Regions from separate parts of the Homo sapiens genome. Here regions 1, 2, 3 and 4 are each linked to region 5. The links are contacts of gene promoters, found by promoter capture Hi-C in blood cells and fetal thymus (Javierre and others, 2016). All regions are on one chromosome and are shown on one strand. The core of a region is centred on a gene start or on the middle of the fragment in contact, and the rest is flanking DNA. Distances in the headings are between cores, read along the strand shown.

Evidence for each region. Contacts are between HindIII fragments. The CHiCAGO score rates a contact against its expected background, and 5 or more counts as called.
Region 1: a contact is called between the fragment with the promoter of SSU72 here and the fragment with the promoter of UBE2J2 in region 5, in 4 of 17 cell types (fetal thymus, total B cells, total CD8 T cells and 1 more). The highest score is 6.8, in fetal thymus.
Region 2: a contact is called between the fragment with the promoter of NOC2L here and the fragment with the promoter of UBE2J2 in region 5, in 6 of 17 cell types (naive CD4 T cells, M1 macrophages, endothelial precursors and 3 more). The highest score is 7.8, in naive CD4 T cells.
Region 3: a contact is called between a fragment that was not itself captured here and the fragment with the promoter of UBE2J2 in region 5, in 1 of 17 cell types (naive CD8 T cells). The highest score is 6.7, in naive CD8 T cells.
Region 4: a contact is called between a fragment that was not itself captured here and the fragment with the promoter of UBE2J2 in region 5, in 1 of 17 cell types (fetal thymus). The highest score is 5.1, in fetal thymus.

The regions. Positions count from the first base shown.
Region 1 is chr1:1,573,595-1,578,045 of GRCh38, reverse strand. It overlaps SSU72 (SSU72 homolog, RNA polymerase II CTD phosphatase), which reads left to right and starts at 3,183. Exons shown (of 5, transcript NM_014188.3): 1 at 3,183-3,568. The coding sequence starts at 3,489. It overlaps SSU72-AS1 (SSU72 antisense RNA 1), which reads right to left and starts at 3,099. Exons shown (of 1, transcript NR_197593.1): 1 at 975-3,099. RefSeq lists enhancers at 450-992, 2,910-2,979, 2,990-3,099 and silencers at 1,391-1,560, 3,220-3,379, 3,620-3,699. The HindIII fragment of the contact is 11,232 bases long and covers 1-4,451 here.
Region 2 is chr1:956,307-961,089 of GRCh38, reverse strand. It overlaps NOC2L (NOC2 like nucleolar associated transcriptional repressor), which reads left to right and starts at 1,834. Exons shown (of 19, transcript NM_015658.4): 1 at 1,834-1,875; 2 at 2,009-2,161; 3 at 3,817-3,991; 4 at 4,065-4,196. The coding sequence starts at 1,850. It overlaps KLHL17 (kelch like family member 17), which reads right to left and starts at 506. Exons shown (of 12, transcript NM_198317.3): 1 at 290-506. The coding sequence starts at 396. RefSeq lists silencers at 1-282, 303-612, 1,571-1,830 and enhancers at 1,941-2,050, 1,709-2,566. The HindIII fragment of the contact is 14,217 bases long and covers 1-4,783 here.
Region 3 is chr1:1,715,088-1,719,209 of GRCh38, reverse strand. CDK11A (cyclin dependent kinase 11A) reads left to right here. Exons shown (of 20, transcript NM_024011.4): 5 at 2,732-2,864. Among named protein-coding and RNA genes, the nearest start is that of CDK11A, 7.2 kb to the left of the region's middle. The HindIII fragment of the contact is 1,554 bases long and covers 1,939-3,492 here.
Region 4 is chr1:1,620,092-1,624,287 of GRCh38, reverse strand. MIB2 (MIB E3 ubiquitin protein ligase 2) reads right to left here. Exons shown (of 20, transcript NM_001170687.4): 3 at 589-857; 4 at 343-514. The coding sequence starts at 835. Among named protein-coding and RNA genes, the nearest start is that of MIB2, 6.7 kb to the right of the region's middle. The HindIII fragment of the contact is 8,411 bases long and covers 1-4,196 here.
Region 5 is chr1:1,271,215-1,275,736 of GRCh38, reverse strand. It overlaps UBE2J2 (ubiquitin conjugating enzyme E2 J2), which reads left to right and starts at 1,883. Exons shown (of 7, transcript NM_058167.3): 1 at 1,883-2,071. LINC01786 (long intergenic non-protein coding RNA 1786) reads right to left here and starts at 1,735. Exons shown (of 3, transcript NR_185846.1): 1 at 1,256-1,735; 2 at 438-934. RefSeq lists enhancers at 399-1,037, 2,228-2,735, 2,736-3,242, 3,243-3,751 and silencers at 1,249-1,298, 1,459-2,038. The HindIII fragment of the contact is 5,565 bases long and covers 1-4,243 here.

The DNA.
Region 1 (4,451 bases), core at 1,934-4,433, 300 kb before region 5:
CCTTCCCACAGCTGGTAGTCCTGACATCTCTGTGAGTATAGCTGAGTGGGATTTTTATGGGCTTCAGAAGGGAGAAAGTGTATACTGATTGGCCCATGGGCAGCCATGGACGGGCCCAGAAAAAGCACCATAAATCTCATTCTGGACGGCAGACTCCACCCAGAACTGGCAGCCCAGCCCCCATGTTTCAGGAAGTCCCTAGCTTTAATGGGGGTCTTCACTGGACACCCACCCCTTTCCACCCAGGAGCCTGTGTGCCTCCTACTGCCATCAATCATGTCATCTACAGGACCCAGGCTGTTCAGGTCAAGGGTCGCCTACAGGACTGGGCTGAGCCGCCCTCAGCCCCTCCTTGGCCTTGCTCCCATGCTTGTGAGCACTCAAAGTCCAGAGCGGGCCGAGGCAGCAAGGGGCTGGCATGCTAGCACTGCCCTCAGTGTGTGCACACCTGGCTGGGTTGCAACAGCGCCTGGGCTTGGCTTCAGCTTTGTCGGGAGTCAGGAGAGGCCAGGTAGCAGCTGGAGGCACTTCTGAGCTTTCGGGGGCAGGTGGGGTGGCTTCCCAGCCCTGGGATTGCAGGGATACCTGGGTCCACAGCCGTGGCTGGGCAGATGCAGCTGCTCCCAGGAGGGTGGGGCTCCTGTCCTGCCAACTTGGAAGGGGGCAGGGCTCCCACATGCTCAGTGGAGCACAGAGTCCCAGCTGAGCCTCCCCTGCTGTAGCCAGCATCTTCCCAGCAGCCACTCAAGAGAGGCTGCCACTGCCATCAATGGTATAACTGACATTTCACAATCAATAGCTTCTGCTGGTAACTTCACAAAAACCTGACCTAAGAGATCTTTAGTACCTATTGGTTAAATAAGGTATTAAATAAGTATGTCAATACTATATGCTGTATGTGGGTAAATTCCTCTGGAACACTGAGATCCATTTACACACAGAAAGAAAACAGGCACATGGTTACAAGTCTCGTGTAATTTCTATGGCCATTTTATTTATTCAATTGGCTTCCTTTAATCTCTATTTTTCTATTTTTGTTTTCTAATTTTTTTCTTTTTAATTGCTTTCCTTTAAGCCTAGGTTCATGGGTCAAAACCAATATGCAAACTGGGATAGTCATATTATTATTGATTTTACCTTGTATTTTCCCCTTTTAAACTTATTCATTGCCATATTTTGCAAAAGGACAATTTCTTTTTTTTTATTTTTTTGAGATGGAATCTCACTCTGTTGCCAGGGTGAACTGCATAGGCACAATCTCAGCTCATAGCAACCTCCGCCTCCTGGGTTTAGGTGATTCTCCTGCCTCAGCCTCCTGAGTAGCTGGGACTACAAGTGCGCACCACTACATCCGGCTAACTTTTGTATTTGTAGTGGAGACAGGGTTTCACCATGTCGGCCAGGATGGTCTCGATCTCTTGACCTCGTGTTCCACCCGCCTCGGCCTCCCAAAGTGCTGGGATTACGGACGTGAGCCACCGCGCCCGGCTACAAGTACAATTTCTAACAGAATAATGCTGACACAGCACTTTGAGATGATAGAAAGACTACAGAAGTGACAAAAGTTGAAGTTAATAATGGACTCCAGGTTAGACTTAGCCTGAGAGCCACACCCTTCAAACCTCCTTTGATGCTCAAATATGGTAAAAAAGGGTTTTGACAATGACTCCCAGCAGCCACTCTCTCCAGTGTGGGACCAGACCAGCTATCTGGGACAAGTTCATCCCAGCACGGGGACTATCAAAACCTAATTACAGGATGACTCATTAGTGATGCATTTGGAGAAAGATCTCAATCAAAAGGGGAAAATACCCAAGTTGTCAAATAAAAGTGGACTCACTTATGTTTAAAAAATACCTTGACAAAGACAGCTGGGAAAGGCCATGGAGAATTCTCATGAATCAATAATAAGAAAAACTATCACAAGATTCTGCAAAAACCACAACCTTGCACTAAGGCAATCTTACACAAAAAATACTTCAGCAAGGACAGCTGCCCAGCAACTGCCTGTCCAACCCTGGAACGGGAGTACACTTGTTTTTTTTTTTTTTTAGACGGAGTCTGGCTCTGTCGCCCAGGCTGGAGGGCAGTGGCGCGATCTCGGCTCACTACAAGCTCCGCCTCCCGGGTTCACGCCATTCTCCTGCCTCAGCCTCCCGAGTAGCTGGGACTACAGGCGCCCGCCACCACGCCCGGCTAATTTTTTGTATTTTTAGTAGAGACGGGGTTTCACCGGGTTAGGCAGGACGGTCTGGATCTCCCGACCTCGTGATCCGCCCGCCTCGGCCTCCCAAAGTGCTGGGATTACAGGCGTGAGCCACCGCGCCCGGCCGGGAGTACACTTGTTACTGTTCTTTGTAGCCAAGGTTAATTATTTCCAAACCATTATCTTCCTCTTCATTTTTTCTTTAAAAACCATTACTTTCCTGAATGCGCAAATCGTTTACTATGGCACGCATATTCGCCAACGCCCTATTCCCAAATAAATATCATTTTCAGTTAGCCTGTTATTAGGTTGACAATCATTATCACTCCCTCTCCCGTCCGTGGCGCTCCCACGGCAAAACATCAGCCCACTGTCCACCGCGAGGCTGCATCCAGGCAGACAGGCATAGCTGGGGAATGACACACTCGCGTTGACTGGATTTACTGTAACTGGACCCAAATCTCAGACCAGCCGGCGGCCTCTCCAAGGAAGCCCGAGGCGAGGAAGATCCTAGTCGACGTGCACTCCCAACCAGGTCTGTCACAGGTCGGCCCTCGCATTTAAACGTTAAATGTTGAAGGGCTTTCATAAAAGAGCGATGTGCTCCTGCTTGTATGAGCCGGGGCCGGAGGCCGGTAACAGCGGCACGGGACGGGAGCGAGCCTCAGAATGCGGGAATGTCTGTGGGCCTCCGGGACAGTGGAGGGAGCGGGTCTAGTGAAGCGCGACGACTCTGGGGTGGCAGAAGTGAGGACTATGGGCCCCACGGGGACCGAGGGAACGCACAAAATCGTCCCAAGAGACGAAACGCCGGGCCGCGGAAGGGCCCTCAATGCTATCTCCGGCAAGCGCGGCGTTTCGCATCGCTCCCAAAGGCGGCGGCGACACCTTATGACGTCCTGTTGTTCCGCACGTCGTCGCGTCACACTAGGCGCCGGCGCGGGGTGCTGATGTCAGGACGCCGCCGCTTGGCGCCGTGACGCTCAGCCGGGCCTTGTGGAGTGCGGGTCTCTGCTGCGGACGCCGGGGGCCGGCGCGGCGTTGGCCGCCCCCGGCCTCGCCGAGTGCAGCGCGCCCGAAGGCCAGTGCCTGCGCTCCGTCCGCGGCCCGGCGCCCAGGGTGGGCGGGGAGGCCGCCGCGCAGTCGCCGCACGCTACACCGCCGGCGCCGTCGTTTCGCGTCGCCCGCTTCCGGCCACCGCGGCCGCCATTTTGTTCGCGCGGAAGCGCCGCGGTAGGGTGGGAACCCAAGCGGGAGAGCCGCGGGATTTGCGGCCGCCGCCATGCCGTCGTCCCCGCTGCGGGTGGCGGTGGTGTGCTCGAGCAACCAGAACCGGAGCATGGAGGCGCACAACATCCTCAGGTAGTTGGGCTCCACCCTGTCCCCGCGCGCTCTGCTCCGGCGACCGGCCCTCCCTCCTCCCCGGTTCCCCCTGGCCCGCGCCAGGACCCCTGAGAGGAAGCCGGGCCGGGCCGCGCTCGTGGGTCGGCTGGTTGGGATGGCAGCTGGACGGCAGCGCGCGTAGTCCACACGCGGGTGGGCATCACAGGGAAGGCAGGTTCCGGGACGAGGCGCCCGCTGTCCGGTGGTCCTTCGAGCTCTCCGAGGCCGGGCCCGGGGGGCGAGGGTAGCGTCCGCGGCGAGGGGCTGCGCGGCGGCGGCCGATCATGGTATTTCGTGTGCGTCGTTGGCCACCTTCCCTGGAAACGGCGCGCAACACAATCACGGCATACCACGATGTTGTAAATAACAAAGCGGTCTCTTTTTTTAATGCCATGGATTTGTGTGTTTGCTACTTCTTCTTCTTTTTTTTTTTTTGCGAAAGATCCTCTCTTCCTCCCTGGAACGCCTCCAACCGGTAGTTTCTGGAATACAACGTGGACTTGGTTTGGCTCTGCTAGTTTATATTCCCTGCTAACTGGCCGCCTGTGACTCTTGCGTAGCGTATGTCTAATGAAAGTTTATTCCTGCTTGATAACAAGTTTTTTGTTCAGTCACATAGCAAACTGAGAAACTGACCACTTGACTTACAGTTAAAATTTGGTATGTGTCAACTTTGATAGTAAGAAAGTTGAAATGGCTTTTTTACCTCCAAAGTTACCTACGTGAACTTTAAATGAAAACAGTGTTTCGCTTCTCTTCTCGCAGTCCAGCTATAACTTTCCTGAGCAACTTGGGAAAATTAACAGTCCCCCTTTTTTTTCCGTTTTTAACAGTGTCACGTGGGCCAGGCACGGTGGCTCAC
Region 2 (4,783 bases), core at 585-3,084, 310 kb after region 5:
TAGTCAGAGCCGCGAACAGAGCCCCGCGTCCGGCCCCGCTTCCCGGCGCCCCCACGAGCTCAGCTCCTCCGCGTCCCTAGCCGCCCTCTCGGGACCGCAGCGGGAGTCGCGTCCTGGGCGCGCGGGGCGCGGGTGGGGAACCTACTCCGGGCCGACCCCGCTCCGCACCTGAGTCCCGACCTCCCCCGGCCCTCGGAAGCGGCCCCCGCCCCTTCTGCGAGCGGACGCGAGGGCGGGGGCCGCGCAGGTCCCGAGGCCGCCCCCCGCGCCCCGACCCCCGCCCACTCACGCCGGCGGCTGCGGCGGTGGAGGCGGCGGCGCCTCGGGCCCGGGCCCCGGGCTGCCGTGCTCCGGGCTCTGCGTCCTGCCGGCCGGGCGCTCGCTGCGGGGCTGCATTCGGCTGCCGGACCCACCGCCGATTCGCGGAGGACCCGCGGGCTTAACGGACGCGGAGACTGCCGGAGGGCTGCTCGGCGGTGGCGGCCCGCTCTGTGTCGCTCACTCCCGCCGCTCCCGCCCGCAGCCGCTGTTTCTCGGCGCCGCCCGCCCCGCCTCCCGAGAGGCTTCGGGGACTAGACGTTGGACGCGGATTCTTCCAGCGCTGCGCCCCGGGTCCGCCTCCTCCTCCGAGAAGCACCCCCAGACCCCGCCATCCTCCTCCTCCGGGAAGCCCCCCACCAGGCCTCGCCCTCCTCCTCCTCCGAGAAGCCCCCCTAGGCCTCGCCATCTTCCTTCTCCGAGAAGCCCCCCAGGCCCCGCCATCCTCCTCCTCTGGGAAGCCCCCGGCCTAGCCCTCCTCCTCCTCCTCCTCCGGGAAGCCCCCCTAGGTCTCGCCTTCCTTCTTCCCCGGGAAGCCCCCCACAGGCCTCGCCCTCCTGTTTCTCCGAAGAGCCCTCCTAAGCCTCGCCCTCCTCCTCCTCCAAGGAGCCCCCCTAAGCCTCGCCCTCTTCCTCCTCCGAGGAGCCCCCCAGGCCTCGCCCTCCTCCTCCCCCGGAAGCCATCCCCGCTCCCCCGACCCCCTAACTTGCTCTCCTCCGGGGAGCCCCGGGGCCCCGCGGCACCAAGAAGTCGAATGGGACCCCGAGGCCAATCCGCCCGTGTTCGCCTCACGCGCCCCCTCAGCGCCAGGGCTGGGGGAGCCGTGCCTGCGCCCCGCGGCGCCCTTGTCGCGGGGTCTGGCTGTCCAGGCCCGGGGGCCCGGGTGTCAGGCTGGTAGCGGGAAGGAAGGCGCCGGCCTCCCCACCGTCTTCGTCCCGTGCGGCGTCCCCGGGAAGAGCCGCGGTCGGCACCCAGAGGGCCATGGACGGGGAGCGCCCTGCGTGGTGTTCGTGGCGCTGGCCCGGTCTCCGCGGATCGGAGGCGAAGCCAGCCTGGCCCTCGGGTCGCCCGTCTTTTGTCGAGCTGGCGACATCAGTGCGGTTCCCACTGCCCCTCGCGTTTTCCACTGGACTCCCTGCTTTTTATTGTTGATTTGTGGGAGCTCTTTGCATAGGAGCCCCGCCGTTGCAGTCTGGCGTCCTCGCAGGCGCGTGCCTTCGGAGCGCCGGGTGGGCTGCGGGCGCGGCGGGACTCCCGGTCTTCCCCGGGGCGGACACCGGCGTCACCGCGTCCTACGGAGCCGGGCGCCGAGCGGGAGGCGCATCTGGGCCCCACCGGGGCTGCCCGCACCGAGCACGCGAACGCGCCCTCCCGCCCTGAGGCCGCCGGCGTTGCGGTCGGAGAACCATAGAGCCACTCGGCTGGGCGTGGCGCGGCGGGGCGGGGAAAGGGGCGGGGCCTGGGCGGCGGAAGTGCGCAGCCGCGCGGCATTCTGGGGCCGGAAGTGGGGTGCACGCTTCGGGTTGGTGTCATGGCAGCTGCGGGGAGCCGCAAGAGGTAAGCCGCGGGTCCGAGGGCCGATTTGGCCTCCCGGTGGGTGTCTGTATCCAAGGGGGCTTTTCTTGCTCCTCTCAGCGGGGCTGGGGCGAGCTGGGCGTGCGGGCAGCTGTGACTCCTGCGTGACCCGCAGGCGCCTGGCGGAGCTGACGGTGGACGAGTTCCTAGCTTCGGGCTTTGACTCCGAGTCCGAATCCGAGTCCGAAAATTCTCCACAAGCGGAGACACGGGAAGCACGCGAGGCTGCCCGGAGTCCGGATAAGCCGGGCGGGAGCCCCTCGGCCAGGTTAGTGGGGACATGCGTGAGCAGAACCTCTTGCTCGTCCTGTCCCACCCCGGTTGGGTTGCTGACCTCGCCTGGGGTCTCAGGGCCAAGGCCTAAGGATCGCCGACCTCTGCCCCCCAGTCCTTTCAGCTTAACTTACTCTTTCATCCGATGTTTACTGAGCTCCTGTTCCGTGCCAAACTCTGTCCTAGGCAGGGAGCGTATGTTGGTGAGTTGTGCAAAAATCTCTTCCCGATCTAGGAGAACTCTCACGTTCTTGGGTGAAATCACCGCCTGCAGTTCGGTAGAAGAGAGATAAGTGCTGGGGAGGGAAAGGAAGGACAGAGGGGCTGAAGAGAGAGTTGCAGGGGAGCCGAGTTGCTCTGTTAGAAGGAGCGGAGGCTGTGCTCGGTGGCTCACGCCTGTAATGCCAGCACTTTGGGAGGCCGAGGCGGGCAGATTACCTGAGGTCAGGAATTCGAGACCAGCCTGACCAACACGGAAAAATCATGTCTCTACTAAAAATATAAAAATTAGCCGGGCGTGGTGGGCACCTGTAATCCCAACTACTCGGGAGGCTGAGGCAGGAGAATCGCTTGAACTTGGGAGGCGGAGGTTGCAGTGAGCCGAGATGGCACCATTGCATTCCAGCCTGGGTGAGAGAGTGAGACTCCATCTCAAAAAGAAAAAGAAAGAAATCAAAAGATACAAAAATTAGCCTGGCGTGGTGACACACACCTGTCGTCCCAGCTACTCGGGAGGCTGAGGCAGGAGAATCGCTTGAACCCGGGAGGCGGAGGTTGCGGTGAGTGGAGATTGCGCCACTGCACTCCAGCCTGGGCGACAGAGTGAGATTCCGCCTCAGGAGAAAAAAAAAAAAAAAAAAAAGCGGAGGTGGTTGTTTGAGAAGATGACGTCTGAATAAAGACCTCGAACAAGGAGGCCACACAGACAGTAGGGGAAACGTGTCTTAGGATTTCAGGCAGCAGAAAACAGCAAAAGCCTTGCAGTGGGAGCATTTGGGGAGAGTACAGAGGTAAACGTGGCTACGGCAGGAGTGAGGGGGTGAATAGGGGTAGATGAGCCCAGAAGGGTGATGAAGAGCCAGGTGCCGTAGACCGTCATAAGATTGCCTCGTAAAACAGGGAGTTACTTCTGGGTTTGAGCGGTGGAGTGCCTTGTAGGTGACAAGGGTGGAAACAGAGAGACCTTTAGGTTAACTGAGAATTGAACTATGTGGTGGTTTGAGAGGAGGCACGAACGGTTTTGAAGGTGTTGCTGATGAGATCTGATGACAAGTTGCGTGCTGGGTATTAGAGACAGAGATTTGCCTTTAGTCTGAGCCTCTGGAAGGGTGAAGCCACCATCAGGCAAAAGTAGCGCAGGGCACAGGCACAGCAAGTCCAGGGAAGACCGCGGCTGGGGGCCTGTGTAGCGCAGGGCGCAGGCACAGCAAGTCCAGGGAAGACCGCGGCTGGGGGGCCTGTGTAGTGTGTTTGAGGGTATGTTGTAGAGGTTGTTGGGTAGGAGACGTGAGTCTGCCAAAAACGTACCTCCTGGCAATCCTGTCTTGCTAGTTGGTAACCCTTGTGAAGGGAGTAGACTGACCCTGTAGGCCACTCCCCGCCCCCTCTACTTCCACTTCCCACTGGGGTCGCTGACTTCTGCCTCCTCAGCCGGCGTAAAGGCCGTGCCTCTGAGCACAAAGACCAGCTCTCTCGGCTGAAGGACAGAGACCCCGAGTTCTACAAGTTCCTGCAGGAGAATGACCAGAGCCTGCTAAACTTCAGCGACTCGGACAGCTCTGAGGAGGAAGAGGGGCCGTTCCACTCCCTGCCAGATGTGCTGGAGGTGAGGGCGTGGGCCAAACCAGAAGGGGGGCACTTGTCTCTACACTCTCCTTCAGCTCAGCCTTTCTGTGCAGGAAGCCAGTGAGGAGGAGGATGGAGCGGAGGAAGGAGAAGATGGGGACAGAGTCCCCAGAGGGCTGAAGGGGAAGAAGAATTCTGTTCCTGTGACCGTCGCCATGGTTGAGAGATGGAAGCAGGCAGCAAAGGTGAGCAGCAGCCAGGGGCGGGCAGCTGGGTGCCCAGGCAGAAATCTGGCCTTGCCTCACCTGAGGTGAGCAGCAGCGAGGGGCGGGCAGCTGGGTGCCCAGGCAGAGATCTGGCCTTGCCTCACCTGAGGCGCCTGAGGCTGTGCTGGTGGGAGGGGCTGTTCTCCACGCAGGGGACGCTTGGAGCCTTCTTCAGCGCAAGTGACAACACGTTGCTCCTCCTGCTTGCTTGGTTGCCCCAGGACTGTGTGTTCACTTTTGGGTAGATTCCAGGGGCTCTGTTGGCGCCCCACTCCCCAAAGTCAGTCCCGCTGTGGGTGGGACGGACTGTGCCTTTGTTGGTTGGTGGAGCTGGGGTCCTTCTGAGCCTCTCACAGTGTTTTTTTCCAGGGACAAGGATACGGAGAGCTCCAGATACCACCTGGAGGTGGCCATAGTCCAGGATCTGGAACTCCCAGTCCTTTTCCTGGGGCTCCTGAGCCAGACTCCCTCCTCTTCCCAGAGAATTCTAGACTTTGTTTCCATTTTTGTTATCAGTATGGGGCTCTGTGCCTCCCCCCAACCTCTGCCCTATGTCTGAGGGTGAG
Region 3 (4,122 bases), core at 1,466-3,965, 440 kb before region 5:
AGCATAATGGTGTCACAGACCGTTCAGAAGGGCTATAGAGAGAATAGCTGAAAGCATGCATGTGTCACAGACCATTCAGAGGGGCTATAGAGAGCAAACTCTAGCTGAAAGCATGTGTGCGTCACAGACCGAAAACCAGAGAGAGCAAACTAGCTGAAAGCATGCGTGTGTCACAGGCCATTCAGAAGGGCTATAGAGAGAGCAAACTCTAGCTGAAAGCATGCGTGTGTCACAGACCATTCAGAAGGGCTATAGAGAGAATACTCTAGCTGAAGGCCGGGCGTGGTGGCTCAAGCCTGTAATCCCAGCACTTTGGGAGGCTGAGGCGGGTGGATCACAAGGTCAGGAGATCAAGACCATCCTGGCTAACACGGTGAAACCCAGTCTCTACTAAAAATACAAAAAATTAGCCGGGCGTGGTGGCGGGCACCTGTAGTCCCAGCTGCTCTGGAGGCTGAGGCAGGAGAATGGCATGAACCTGGGAGGCGGAGCTTGCAGTGAGCCGCTATCGCACCACTGCACACTCTAGCCTGGGCGACAGAGCAAGACTCCGTCTCAAAAAAAAAAAAAAGAATACTCTAGCTGAAAGCATACGTGCGTCACAGACCGTTCAGAATGGCTATAGAGAGAATACTCTAGCTGAAAGCGTGCGTGTGTCACAGACCGAAAACCAGAGAGAGCAAACTCTAGCTGAAAGCGTGCGTGTATCACAGACCGAAAACCAGAGAGAGCAAACTCTAGCTGAAAGCGTGCGTGTGTCACAGACCATTCAGAAGGGCTATGGAGAGCAAACTCTAGCTAAAAGCCTGCGTGTGTCACAGACCGAAAACCAGAGAGAGCAAACTCCAGCTGAAAGCATGCGTGTGTCACAGACCGTTCAGAGGGGCTATAGAGAGAATACTCTAGCTGAAAGCATGCGTGTGTCACAGACCGAAAACCAGAGAGAGCAAACTCCACCTGAAAGCATGCGTGTGTCACAGACCATTCAGAAGGGCTATAGAGAGAATACCCTAGCTGAAAGCATGCGTGTGTCACAGACCGAAAACCAGAGAGAGCAAACTCTAGCTGAAAGCATGCGTGTGTCACAGACCGAAAACCAGAAAGAGCAAACTCTAGCTGAAAGCGTGCGTGTGTCACAGACCATTCAGAAGGGCTATAGAGAGCAAACTAGCTAAAAGCATGCGTGTGTCACAGACCGAAAACCAGACAGAGCAAACTCCAGCTGAAAGCATGCGTGTGTCACAGACCATTCAGAAGGGCTATAGAGAGAATACTCTAGCTGAAAGCATGCATGTGTCACAGACTGAAAACCAGAGAGAGCAAACTCTAGCTGAAAGCATGCGTGTGTCACAGACCGTTCAGAGGGGCTATAGAGAGGATACTCTAGCTGAAAGCGTGCGTGTGTCACAGACCGAAAACCAGAGAGAGCAAACTCTAGCTGAAAGCATGCGTGTGTCACAGACCGTTCAGAGGGGCTATAGAGAGGATACTCCAGCTGAAAGTGTGCGTGTGTCACAGACCGAAAACCAGAGAGAGCAAACTCTAGCTGAAAGCATGCGTGTGTCACAGACCGAAAACCAGAGAGAGCAAACTCTAGCTGAAAGCGTGCGTGTGTCACAGACCATTCAGAATGGCTAGTCCATTTTTCCTCTGGGGTTTTCTCTCCCCCATTATATTGTTTGGGAGCAGTTTGTTTACATTTAAAATGACCTGAATTCAACAAGTATAGGAGAAAAACACACCCCAAAATGGGTATTTGCTCAAGTCCAAAGAATGGGTTAGGCTTGAGCAGTTTGATCTCGTACCAACATCAGGAGATTCTTACGGGTGTTAGGAAAATTGGACCTGGAGCCCGATTGAAATCTCATTATTATAAATACGCTTGATTAATTAATGTGGCTTCATTGCACAGTGGAGAAGCCCACTGATAGCAAAGCTTTGTTCTGTAGTCTTTGTGAAGAGTGGTTTTTGTATTATAAAACTGATAATTATAGTTTATTCAGTATAGAAAATTTTTAAAAGATGAATATTACAATTCTCTTCTGTGATAGCAGAATTGTTTTTCTTTTTTCTTCTTTCTTCATAATTAGACGCTTACTGCAGATAGTTTTCTATTTTCAAAGTTTTTTATTTAACATAAAATCATGATTATTCGACTGGGTGCAGTGGCCCAGGCCTGTAATCCCAGCACTTTGGGAGGACAAGGATGGAGGATCACTTGAGCCCAGGAGTTCAAGACCAGCTTGGCCAATATAGTGAGACCCTGTCTCTTCAAAAAAAAAAAAAAAAAGATTAGGATTACTTAACATCATTATTTAAATATTTAATGTTCTTGATTTAATTTCATTTTCATGTGATTTTTTTTTTTTTTTTTTTTTTTTTTTTTTTTTTTTTTGAGATGGAGTCTCACTTTTTCGCCCAGGCTGGAGTGCAGTGGCACGATCTCGGCTCACCGCAACCTCCACCTCCCAGGTTCAAGTGATTCTACAGCCTCAGCCTCCCTTAGTACCTGGGATTACAGGTGCCTGCCACCACGCCCAGCTAATTTTTGTATTTTTAGTAGAGACGGGGTTTCACCATGTTGGCCAGGCTGGTTTTGAACTCCTGACCTCAGGTGATCCACCCGCCTCGGCCTCCCAAAGTGCTGGGATTACAGGCGTAAGCCACCGTGCCCGGCCTCGTGAAATTTTTGAAGTGAGGTTTCTTTGCATGACACTTTATTTCTCATTAGGGAAGCATGCTAGAGTGAAAGAAAGAGAGCACGAACGTCGGAAACGACATCGAGAAGAACAGGATAAAGCTCGCCGGGAATGGGAAAGACAGAAGAGAAGGGAAATGGCAAGGGAGCATTCCAGGAGAGAAAGGTGAGTGGGCTGGGTCAGTTGAGGACTTTATGAAAGGGCCGTGGTAGTGTGTCCTGTCACAGCAATGAAGAAGAATTTGGCAATAGAAGTCACATTTGTTGCAGAAGTGGTAGACATGGAAACAGCACAGTGAACGCTGGACGAGGCTGACCAAGAGAACTGTCCTGAGGGAGTGAGTTTTCACTGCATCTGGAAGTAAGAACGGGTGTGATTTGATTGAGGGAAGACAATGAAGGGATCAGAAATCTGCACGTCCCGCCGGGCGCAGTGGCTCACGCTAGAATTCCAGCACTTACGAGGCTGAGGTGGTTGGATCCCTTGAGCCTGGGAGGTCAAGGCTGCAGTAAGCTATGACCATGCTACTGCACTCCAGCCTGGTTGACAGAGTGAGACTGTCTCAAAAAAAGGAGAAGGGAGATCCCAAAAACCTTGAAACAGTCTGGAAATCGGGACACTGGACTCCTAGGACTCCTGGCCATTAGTCTGTATATTCGTTCCCCTTTATGAGCCAGATTCCCAAGAAAGAACATCGGTGTAGCCCCAGATCTGTTCTGTGAACCAGGAAAAAGGCTGTAGGCCAGGTGCGAGCAGGCCCATCTCCGCCTTCAGAGTGAGTCCACAGAAAGCTTGCAAGCTGCTCCAGGAAGAGAGGAGTCTGAAGCGGAAGGGCGTGTGCAGCGATGTTTGCCAGCAGCCAGGGCTGGGTACACAGCATGTAAAGATGATGAGAGGGCGCTGGTTCTTGTTGATGCCGAAGGGTGTGGGAGACACTGAGGCCCAGGGGTCAAGGTCCGAGACCGCTGCTGGGTGAGCAAGGTTTCAGTTGGCCTAGTTCCTGTTAGTGTGTGAAACATTCATGTATGCCACGCCCTGTGCCAGACATTGAGTGTGTCTTGTCCCACGAGAGTAGAGCTTGGGATAGAAGTGGAGGTTGGTAGATGAAATTTGGGCTGTCATATTGATTTCCCAGAAGGTAAAGACAGGAGAGTGAATGAACAAAAATTGTTGGGGGCAGACTTCTGGGTAGGGCCGATTCAGATCAGCCAATCCAGAACTGGGTGTGGTAGCATATGCTACGTGGGAGGCTAAGGCCAGAGGACCGCATGACGCCAGCCTGGGCAACGTAGAGAGACCTTGTCTCTGACAAAAAGGAAACTGATAAGGATAATCTGAGAAGCACTGATGCTTGGAAAACTGCTGAGCTGTGGGTAAAAGCAGTAAGAATCTGACCTTCTGGCCTGAGAGCTGCTCCCTTTAC
Region 4 (4,196 bases), core at 147-2,646, 350 kb before region 5:
CCCAAGCAGGCTAGATTCTCCCCGAGCTGATGCCCTCGGACCAGAGCGCAGCAGCCTCCAAGACAGCCCAGGTGCTGGCTCCGGGTATGGGCTGTCCTCCTGGAGGTCTCATGCCGCCCTGGGGGATGCTGGCTGCCTGATGGCCACTGCTGCCTGTAGAGCCACCCAGAGGCCACCCTCTGTGCCCTGCCCATGGCACCACTGCTTAAGGCCACGGCTCTGGAGAGACTTGCTCCGTCTTCCTGGGAGCGGTCAGGAGGCAGCACCCTCCCCGAAGGCCAAGGCCCCAGTGGCAAGGCCTGGGTACCCGCCGCACAGGAGCCGGTGCGGCCCGGGACTCACGGGCGCGAGTGAGCGGTCTCGTAGCGGTCGAAGGCGTGGGCGAGCTCATGCTTGTTGTGCATGTAGCACTGCGTGCAGAGGTCGTAGTCCAGGCACACACGGCACTTCCAGCGCATCCCCCGCAGCCCGTGCTTCTTGCAGCAGTCACAGATGATGTTGGGGTGCCGGACGCCTGGGGGTGGGGTGGGGTCAGAGGGGCGTTCCCGCCCCCGGGTCCTGCCCGTCCCGCCTGCCCTTGGCGCGCACCGATCTGGGCGTTGTCGTACAGCAGCAGGTCGTGCGCGCCCTGGTAGCCGGCGCGGTAGTTGGTGCGCGTGCCCTGGTCCCACTGCACGACCACTGTGCGGTCGGGTGTCGAGGGGCTGCCGTGGCGGCCAAGCTCCACCACCGTGCCCACGCCGCCCTCGCCGCCGTCCTGCTGGCCCCACTTCCAGTCCACGCCGCGCACCACCCGCATGCCCACCTGCACGCCCGCCTGGGGGTCTGGGTCCATGTTGGGCGGGGCTGCTCGGGACCTGTGGGCAGAGGGGTCCATGGTGGGCCGGGCTGCTCGGGACCTGTGGGCAGAGGGTATTCTCAGGCCACCATGGGACACTCCCGGTCAGAGTGGGCTCCGCGGGAGAGCAGAGAGGCCCAACGGGGCAGGCAGGCTGGTTCAAGCCCTAGGGCCCAAGGAGGCCCGCAGTCTGGCACCAGGGAGGCCGGTGGGAAAGGCGGGCGCCGTGCCAGCCTGGCGCGGGAACTGCAGGGTGGTCTGGGCCCAGGGATCAGGGAGCCTGGCCCCGGGGGCTTCATGAAAGGTTCACAAATAACGCTCTCGGAAGAAAACCACCATCTCTTCCCACAGCCAATTAATGAGCTGGACACTGGACTTCACTAAAGTAAGAGCTGCCGTCCCCCGAGACACTCACATGGTTGGACGGGCAGTGGCAAGTGAGCAGACACCGTGACACGCGTCCCTCAGAGGACTCGTGTCCACACAGGGCGAGGAACTCCTATGATCCACACGAAAACGTCAGACAACCCAACAGAAAAACGGCAAACACGATGCAGGCGCCGTACAAGACCAGCAGGCATCGGCCAGCGGGACCAGGAGGCATCTGTCCCCAGACACTGCTCCTGGGGGACACCAGCTTTGGGCCCTGCACGTCAGGGACAGTGCAGCGAGGCCACACAGCACCACAGAGCCTTCTCTGGAAAAGTGGCCCTGGCCACGCAAGGCACTCACGACAGAGGCCGGATACTCGAGCAGAGGCAGGTTCCTGGGTCCTCAGTGGCCACGGGGTCCTGAAGCGGGGCTGAGTCCCAACCAAGCAGGGACCCACTCGCCACACAGAGCACAAGCCAGAGCTCACCAGCAGATGGAGGGAAGTAGCCAAGTGCAAACGCCATGCCAGGCGGCTCCGTTTATACAAAGGTGCAAATCCAGGCTGCCGGAGGCAGGGATGGAGTCAGCCACAGGGCTCGAGGCCCAGGACTGCTAATCCCCAGTCTGGGCGCTGACCCCCGAGAGCTCACTCTGCAGACGTGAGTCACCGTGGGCTGCCTCTCTCCACCATGCTGGGCTTCAGCACAGTCTCGTTAACAAGAAGAATGGATGTGAACATTAAGAGGGAAAATCAGAAGGTGGAGGCTACAGCTGGCTGTGATCGCACCACTACACTCCAGCCTGGCGGGGAGGGGAGGGCCACCACTCAATTTTCATTAAACCACTAGGACCCCATGGCCAGGGAAGGAGGCAGCCCAGGAACACTGCCTGAAGCAGAGGTGGGGGACACGGCAGTCCCAGGAGGCTGGAGGGACCCCTGAGACTGGGTGGATGTGGCTGAGGATGGGAGGGGGCCCTGCCAACTCCAGGACACAGGCCAGCCTGGGCCTCACAGGCCAGCCCTCCACCTGGGCAGCACTGCAACCCAGTGCTTTGCATCTCAGGCCAGTTCAGGAGACACCCTGGCCCGGGAGAGGCTGCAGGTGAGCAGTGAGGAGGGGCCACAGCAAAGCCCCCGACTCCTGCTCTGACTCAGGGGCCTGAGCCCCACAGGTTGTCCCCCGAGCAAGGCCCGGTGAGGAGCCCAGCCCCACTCCGGAGACTGAGTCCAGTGCAGAGGCTCTGCCTGCAGGGCTGGGCTCCCGATCCGTGCCCCCGATCCGTGCCCCGGCTGCGAGTTGGAGCACAGGACTCCCTCTAATTCTCAGGGGCACAAACTTCCTGGCCAGCTTGGCCTCTCCAATGCTCCCTCCTCACCCTGCCCAGGACCGCGAGAGCTTCCACAGGAATGGGTGGATGTTTTACAAGCACAGCTCTCCCTGTCAGTGACTAAGAGGAGCCCCCACCCAGCAGCCGGGCTCTGCTTCTTCAGGGAAACCCCACATGGCCTCATCTGTCCAGAGGCCTCACCTGTCGGGTGACGCTGCCTCCCTCACCTGTCGGGTGACGCTGCCGAGATGTGCACCAAGGCCTGGGCCAGGGCAGGCTCCAGCACCGGGGCTTCCTTTTCCTGTGGCACCAGTGAGCCCCAGACAAGGAGAGGGGTCCCGTGGGCAGCTCCACAGCCATCAGGGAAGGCAGCTGGCTCTGCCCTCCCCACGGCCTCCTGCAGCCTCCCGGCTGGGCCTCCGCATGAGCGGCTTCCACAGCCGGCAGCCAGAGAAACCCCACCTTGCCCTCGGAGGCCCCGCGGAGCCAGGAGCCCACCCACCACCCAGGGTGACCCACAGGCCCTCCCCATGGGCCCCTGTGGCACTATTCCCCTCGCGGGGCCTCTGAGGGCAGCCCCCAGGTGGTGCACTGCTGCGTCCTGTTTGGCCAGGACCCCACCAGCTTCAGCTTTGACTGAATGGCTGCATGAATGAAACATAAGAACCAGAGAGAATCTGTGCCAGGCTTCTGTGACAGCGGCAGCCCCTGTGTCCCGAGGACCCGCCCAGCACAGGCCGCTTCTAGCCATCCCAGCGCTGACTGCGCCTCACCCAGAGCATGTCCAGGTGGACACAGTTCCACCGGCCAGCCCAGCTCCATGGCCCCACCTGGGTCATGACACTTGACTCTCCAGATCTCTGCAGACCCTCCCATCCCCACTGGGGGCTGTCTTGGAGGGAGGTCACTCCCTCCTGCCCCAGCAGCTCCCCACTGCCTGCTCTGCCACCAGCTGGGGGGCAGGCTCTGCAGGGTTCCTGCTCCCAGGATCCACAAACTGACCTCAGCTTTTGCCCATGGAGCACCCAAGAAGGGTGAGGCATGGCCTGGGCTGAGCTCCCCCACTCCAGCCTCCTCTACACAGGGACCTTCGCCACAGAATGGCACAGGCCGGGGAGGCCGACGCAGCAGTCTGCTGGCGGGGGGACAAGTGAGAGGGGCACTGCTCCTTAGGGTTGCAGACCCCACCCCCTGCCAGGCCGTCCACCTCCACCAGATCCACACGCAACCTCCTCCTTGCCAGGATCCCACCAGAATCGGCCACAGCTGGAATCACACTAAGCCGGGGACTCCTCCCTGCCAAACACCTCCACTTAGCCAGAGCAGGGCTCATCACAGGCAGCCGCAGAACCGACTGGAGGTCTTTGCTAGTAGGGGACACGCATCTGCCGACCCCCGAGATGGGCCCGGCAATGGAGATGAAGGACTTGGGACCGCAAAAAAGCCAATGCCATGAGCCCACACTGTGATCCTTCTGCAGCAGGGGGCGCCTTCTGTCTCTGCGCCCAGACTCTCAGCCACAGCCAGCTTAGCCCAGGCCAGCGGCCACACCTGCCCGACCCGCTGGCCATATGCCATTGGACCTTTCCAAAAAGACAGGGGCAGGGTGCCCCATGTGTGAGCCAATGTGTCCTGTGCTTTGGCAAATCTTGCCCTT
Region 5 (4,522 bases), core at 634-3,133:
TAAAGGGACTGAGACCTTCCTCAGTTTGCACCCTCCAGGCTGGGTTCTCTGTCCCTCAAGCATCCCCTGGCCAGACAATCCCTGCTGTTCAGAGGCAGCCAAGGCTTTCTGGTCCAACCCTGGGGGCTGGAGGAGGTGGGGGCAGGAGGTGGTAACTGGGTTGGGGGATGTTTTCTTGGTTGCCAAAGCAGAGGGTGCCCCCCGCTGCTCAAGATGCTGAGGGTGGTCCCTGTTGTCCTATTCCTGAAGCTGCCAGAGGAAGTCCCTCCGGAGGGCTGGCCCACAGCAGAAGGGCTGCTCCTGCCCTCAGAGGGCAATCTCAGGGTTGAGAAGGTTACAGCCACCATCTGCCACCAACCTAGCTGCTTGTGCCGATCCCACTGGCCAAGGCCATCGGCTCTATGGCTAGAGGCCTGGGCAGCCTGTGTCCTGCTTACCAGAAGGCCACAGATGCGGGTGGGTGGGGTGGTGGGGTCTTGGCAAGACGTGCTGGCCACACCTGTCCGGGGCACCTTCTCCCTGGGGTGTGACTCAGCCATGCTCCTGAGCAGGGGCCTCTGAGTTGAGCCTCGCTGCAGTCTTCCCAGCTGCAGGGCCCCCACAGGTGTGCTGTCATCGCACACTACTGAGGGACAGACAAGGCAGAGCGGGCCTCCATCTGCCGCGGGCCACAGCCGTGAGTGTGCATGCGAGTGGATGTGCTGGTGCCTGTATCTGCGGCCGGTGTGGCTTCCCTCACATAACTTTCCATGCTGTGAAAACAGTTTGGCCTGCCCTGCATGGGAACGGCAGAGGCCTGAGAGGAGGCAGAGGAAGGAGGCTGGATGCTGAGATGTTCTCCGAAGGTGGAGCCGGTGACGGCAGTAATGGAGGCAGGCTGGATTCCCACGGGCTGAGGCTGCGTGGACACTCCTCCTGGCTTCTGCCCCACGGCCTGCAGCAACGTCTCAGACCCACCAAGGTGTCCCAGAGGGCCAGAGTCAGGGCTGAGCATGGACACAGCCTGCCCTCTGCCCGTAGCCACAGCGGGACTGACCCTCAATATTCAGCCACCTTGCTGACCTGTGGTTGTTCCTGAGAGGCAGTCAGGGTTGGGGCAAAGGAGAGGGCCACAGGCAGCCAGGTGGCGAGGTCCACCTCCTGATCCCCCACCAGGGGACCACCCTCAGCTCCCCGCTGTCCTCAGCGGCCTCTCAGGGAGGCGGTGGGCTGCGCGCCTGCCCCCAGCGTCCCACCCCAGCGCCCCGCCACCTACCGCTCTCTCCCAATGTGTCTGGGGTCAGAGAGAGGTGGAGAGGACGCAGCGCCCCGCGCTTTCTGCAGTCTGTCCAAGGGGAGGTCAGGGGCATCCCGGGGCTGGGCAGGCACCTGCAGGGGAGGGTGCTGCGGCGCGGACGTGGGTTGCAAAGAGATGCCACGCGTGTCACTCTCGGGTCCCTGAACGAGAGAGCTCTGAGCTCCCTGGAGCCCAACCCTCCACTGAGCCTCCAGGGGCCCGGGACGCTCCATGCCCGGGCCGCGCCGCGCCTCCCCTAAGGGCCGGGTGGGGCGTGGGAGCGGAGGACAAGGCGGGAGCCGGGAGGCGGGAGGGTCGGGGTTCTTTCTCCACCGGGGTCGCCCTCAGCCGGGCCTGCCGCCCTGGGCCGTGGCACATGGGGAGGGAAGCGCGCGGCTTCGGGGTCTGGGGCTCTCGCGCCCACTAACGGTGCCCGGAGCCGCCCGCCAGTGCGCAAGCGCCGCCCCGCCCCCCGCCCCATCCCCCACCCCGGGGTCGACGGCGACAGAGAGTCGTGGGCGCGGTCCGCCAGTCTGCCTAGAGCGGCCAGCCCTCCCCCTCCCTCCTCACCGCCCCGGACCGCGCACCGGAAGCAGAAGCTAGGCTGGTTCCGCCCCGCGAGCGGCCATCTTGGAGGCTGAGGCGGCGGCGGCGGCGCTGCGGCGGGTTCGGTGGGCCCAATCCCGGGGCGGTGCGGCTGTTTCGGGCGCGGGCCCCGCTTTTCCGCACCCTGCTCCGGCCTCGACTACGGCGAGCCTGAGCGCGGCGGCGGCCCACGCGCAGCGACAGGGAGAGGTGAGCGCGCTCGCAGGCCTGCGCCGGGTCCTCGGGCCCGCTCGTCCCCCCTGCCGGAGCCGGCCACAGCGGCGGCCCGGGGCTGCTGGGGACCCTGCGCGACGCTTCTCCGTTCGCGCCCGCCGCCCGCGGGGCCCCGGCCCGAGCCTGCCTGCGCGGAACCCGAGGTCGGTTACGGCGGGCTCCCGGAGCTCCGGGTCAGGGTCATGTCGGGGACTTGACCACTCGGCCGGGTTTCCCGTCAGCTGGGACACTTGCAGCTGCCCCAGGACGGGCAGCCTCGATCCTGGTTCGTCAGTGGATCACGGGAGTCTGTGTCGGGGGAGGGCTGCCGTCGAGCCCGCCGTCGCCTCGCCCCTGAACTGTTAGACTCCAGACTGCCCCGTAAACCCCGAGAGAAACGAGCGTGCCCGGGACTGTGCTTAGGGCCAGCGTTTCTGGGAAACCCGGGCGGTGACAGTGGGAGACCACCGCCGGCCGGCGAGTGAGACACGAGCCCGGAACAAGTCTCTAAGCGGCGCCGGGCCTCGCCATCCACACCTGCCAGTTCCCTGCATCCTTTCAGCCCCTGGCCAGGTGTCACCTCCTGGCGTCCTTTTCAGTGCCTGCCACTTAGTGCGTGTGTATTTAACTCTAGTCCGGTTGCCATCCTCTTGCCAGACCCAGATAGGAAGCGGCTGAAAGGTCGGGCCTCAGCCCGGTGGGAGGTGGGCAGCGAAGAGTGTACAGCGGGCTTGGCTGGGGCAGGTCGGTGGCCCCGCGCCCTGCTCCAGGGGAACCAGACTGTGTAATCTGGCTTCCGAAGAAAGGATCGTGAGTATCTCGCTTAGTCTAGCACCTGAGCCTAGGGCGTGGTTGGGTCTGGGTGCCCGGAACTTGCAGTCCGTCATCTGCACGGCCTGGCACCGCTGACCTCCTTAGCAGTTCCACTCTCGGCAGGGATGTGCGTGAGTGACAGGCAGGTGAGCCAGGCAGGTAGGTGAGTGCTTGAGTGACAGGCAGGTGAGCCAGGCAGGTAGGTGCGTGGATGAGTGACAGGCAGGTGACCCAGGCAGGTGCATGTGTGAGTCGCAGGTGAGTGTCCCATTTCCATCGGCCCGGGCTTCCGTCCAGCCTCCGGAGCAGTCTGGTGGAGAAGGCAGAGACTTCCCTGGCAGTCCTGGACCTGGGTGTGCCATGCGCCTGGCCGATGGGTCAGGCCAAGGTTTCCTGCCACATCCCCTAAGCAGGAAAGAGCTGTCCAGACAAAGAGGGACGGGTGAGGGACGCTGGGCAGCCACTGCCTCAGCACCTGGGCACAGCTGCCCTCGGTGATTCACGCTGCTTTAATGCAGTTTCTGTGTGTGAACATTTTTTTTTCCTGTGCCTTTTTGTTTTAAAATCGCCAACTCTTTCTCTCAGCAGGATGATATGCTTGGTGTCCTTTGTCTGTGGGGATGTTTGAAGGGAACCCGAGGCACATATGCTTCAAACTCTGTTCTCACAGTTTGCTTCCTTTGTGGAATTTTTTTTTTTTGATACAGGGTCTCTGTTGGCCCAGCTAGAGTGCAGTGACATGATCTCAGTTCACTACAGCCTCCGGCTCCCGAGTTCAAGTAATTCTCCCACCTCAGCCTCCAGAGTAGCTGGGATTGCAGGTGCCCACCACCACACCCGGCTAATTTTTTTTTTTTTTTTTTTTTTTTTTTTTTGAGACGGAGTTTCGCTCTTGTTGCCCAGGCTGGAGTGCAATGGCTTGATCTTGGCCCACCACAGCCTCCACCTCCTGGATTCAAGTGATTCTCCTGCCTCAGTCACCCGAGTAGCTGGGATTACAGGCACATGCCACCATGCCTGATTAATTTTGTATTTTTAGTAGAGACGGGGTTTTACCATGTTGGTCAGGCTGGTCTCGAACCCCCGATCTCAGGTAATCTGCCTGCCTGGGCCTCCCAAAGTGTTGGGATTACAGGTGTGAGCCACCACGCCCAGCCCCTTTGTGAATTTTTGTTTTCCTTGTCCTTCCTGCTGTCATATTGGGATGAGAAGAATTGGGGGAAATAGCCCCCTGGCCTCCTGGGGGACGTGAGAATGCTGTTCTGTGTGAAGCTCAGGAAGAGTGGCTGGGGAAACAGCAGTTGAATCGTGAACATGATTTTAAAAGCCTCTCCAAGCAGGTATGGGAGAGAAGCTTGTTTGTGACTCATTGGATGGAATCTATTTTATTTTTGCGCGGCTGTCCATGAACTTTCGTTAAACCTGCGGCCTGGCCACTTAGCTAAGCCCAGACCCACCTGCACTTGAATTGTCCAGTGAATTATTTTGTATATGGCAGAGTGTTAGCTTCAGGGTGAGTGTCGAAAGGACAGCCTGTGTGGCGGTGCTGCTTGGGGTCATCACTGTGGCCATCACCAGGTGTTGGCCTGAGGGGAGATCCCTGGCCCATTGGCTTCTTTAGCCAGGAGCTGGGGA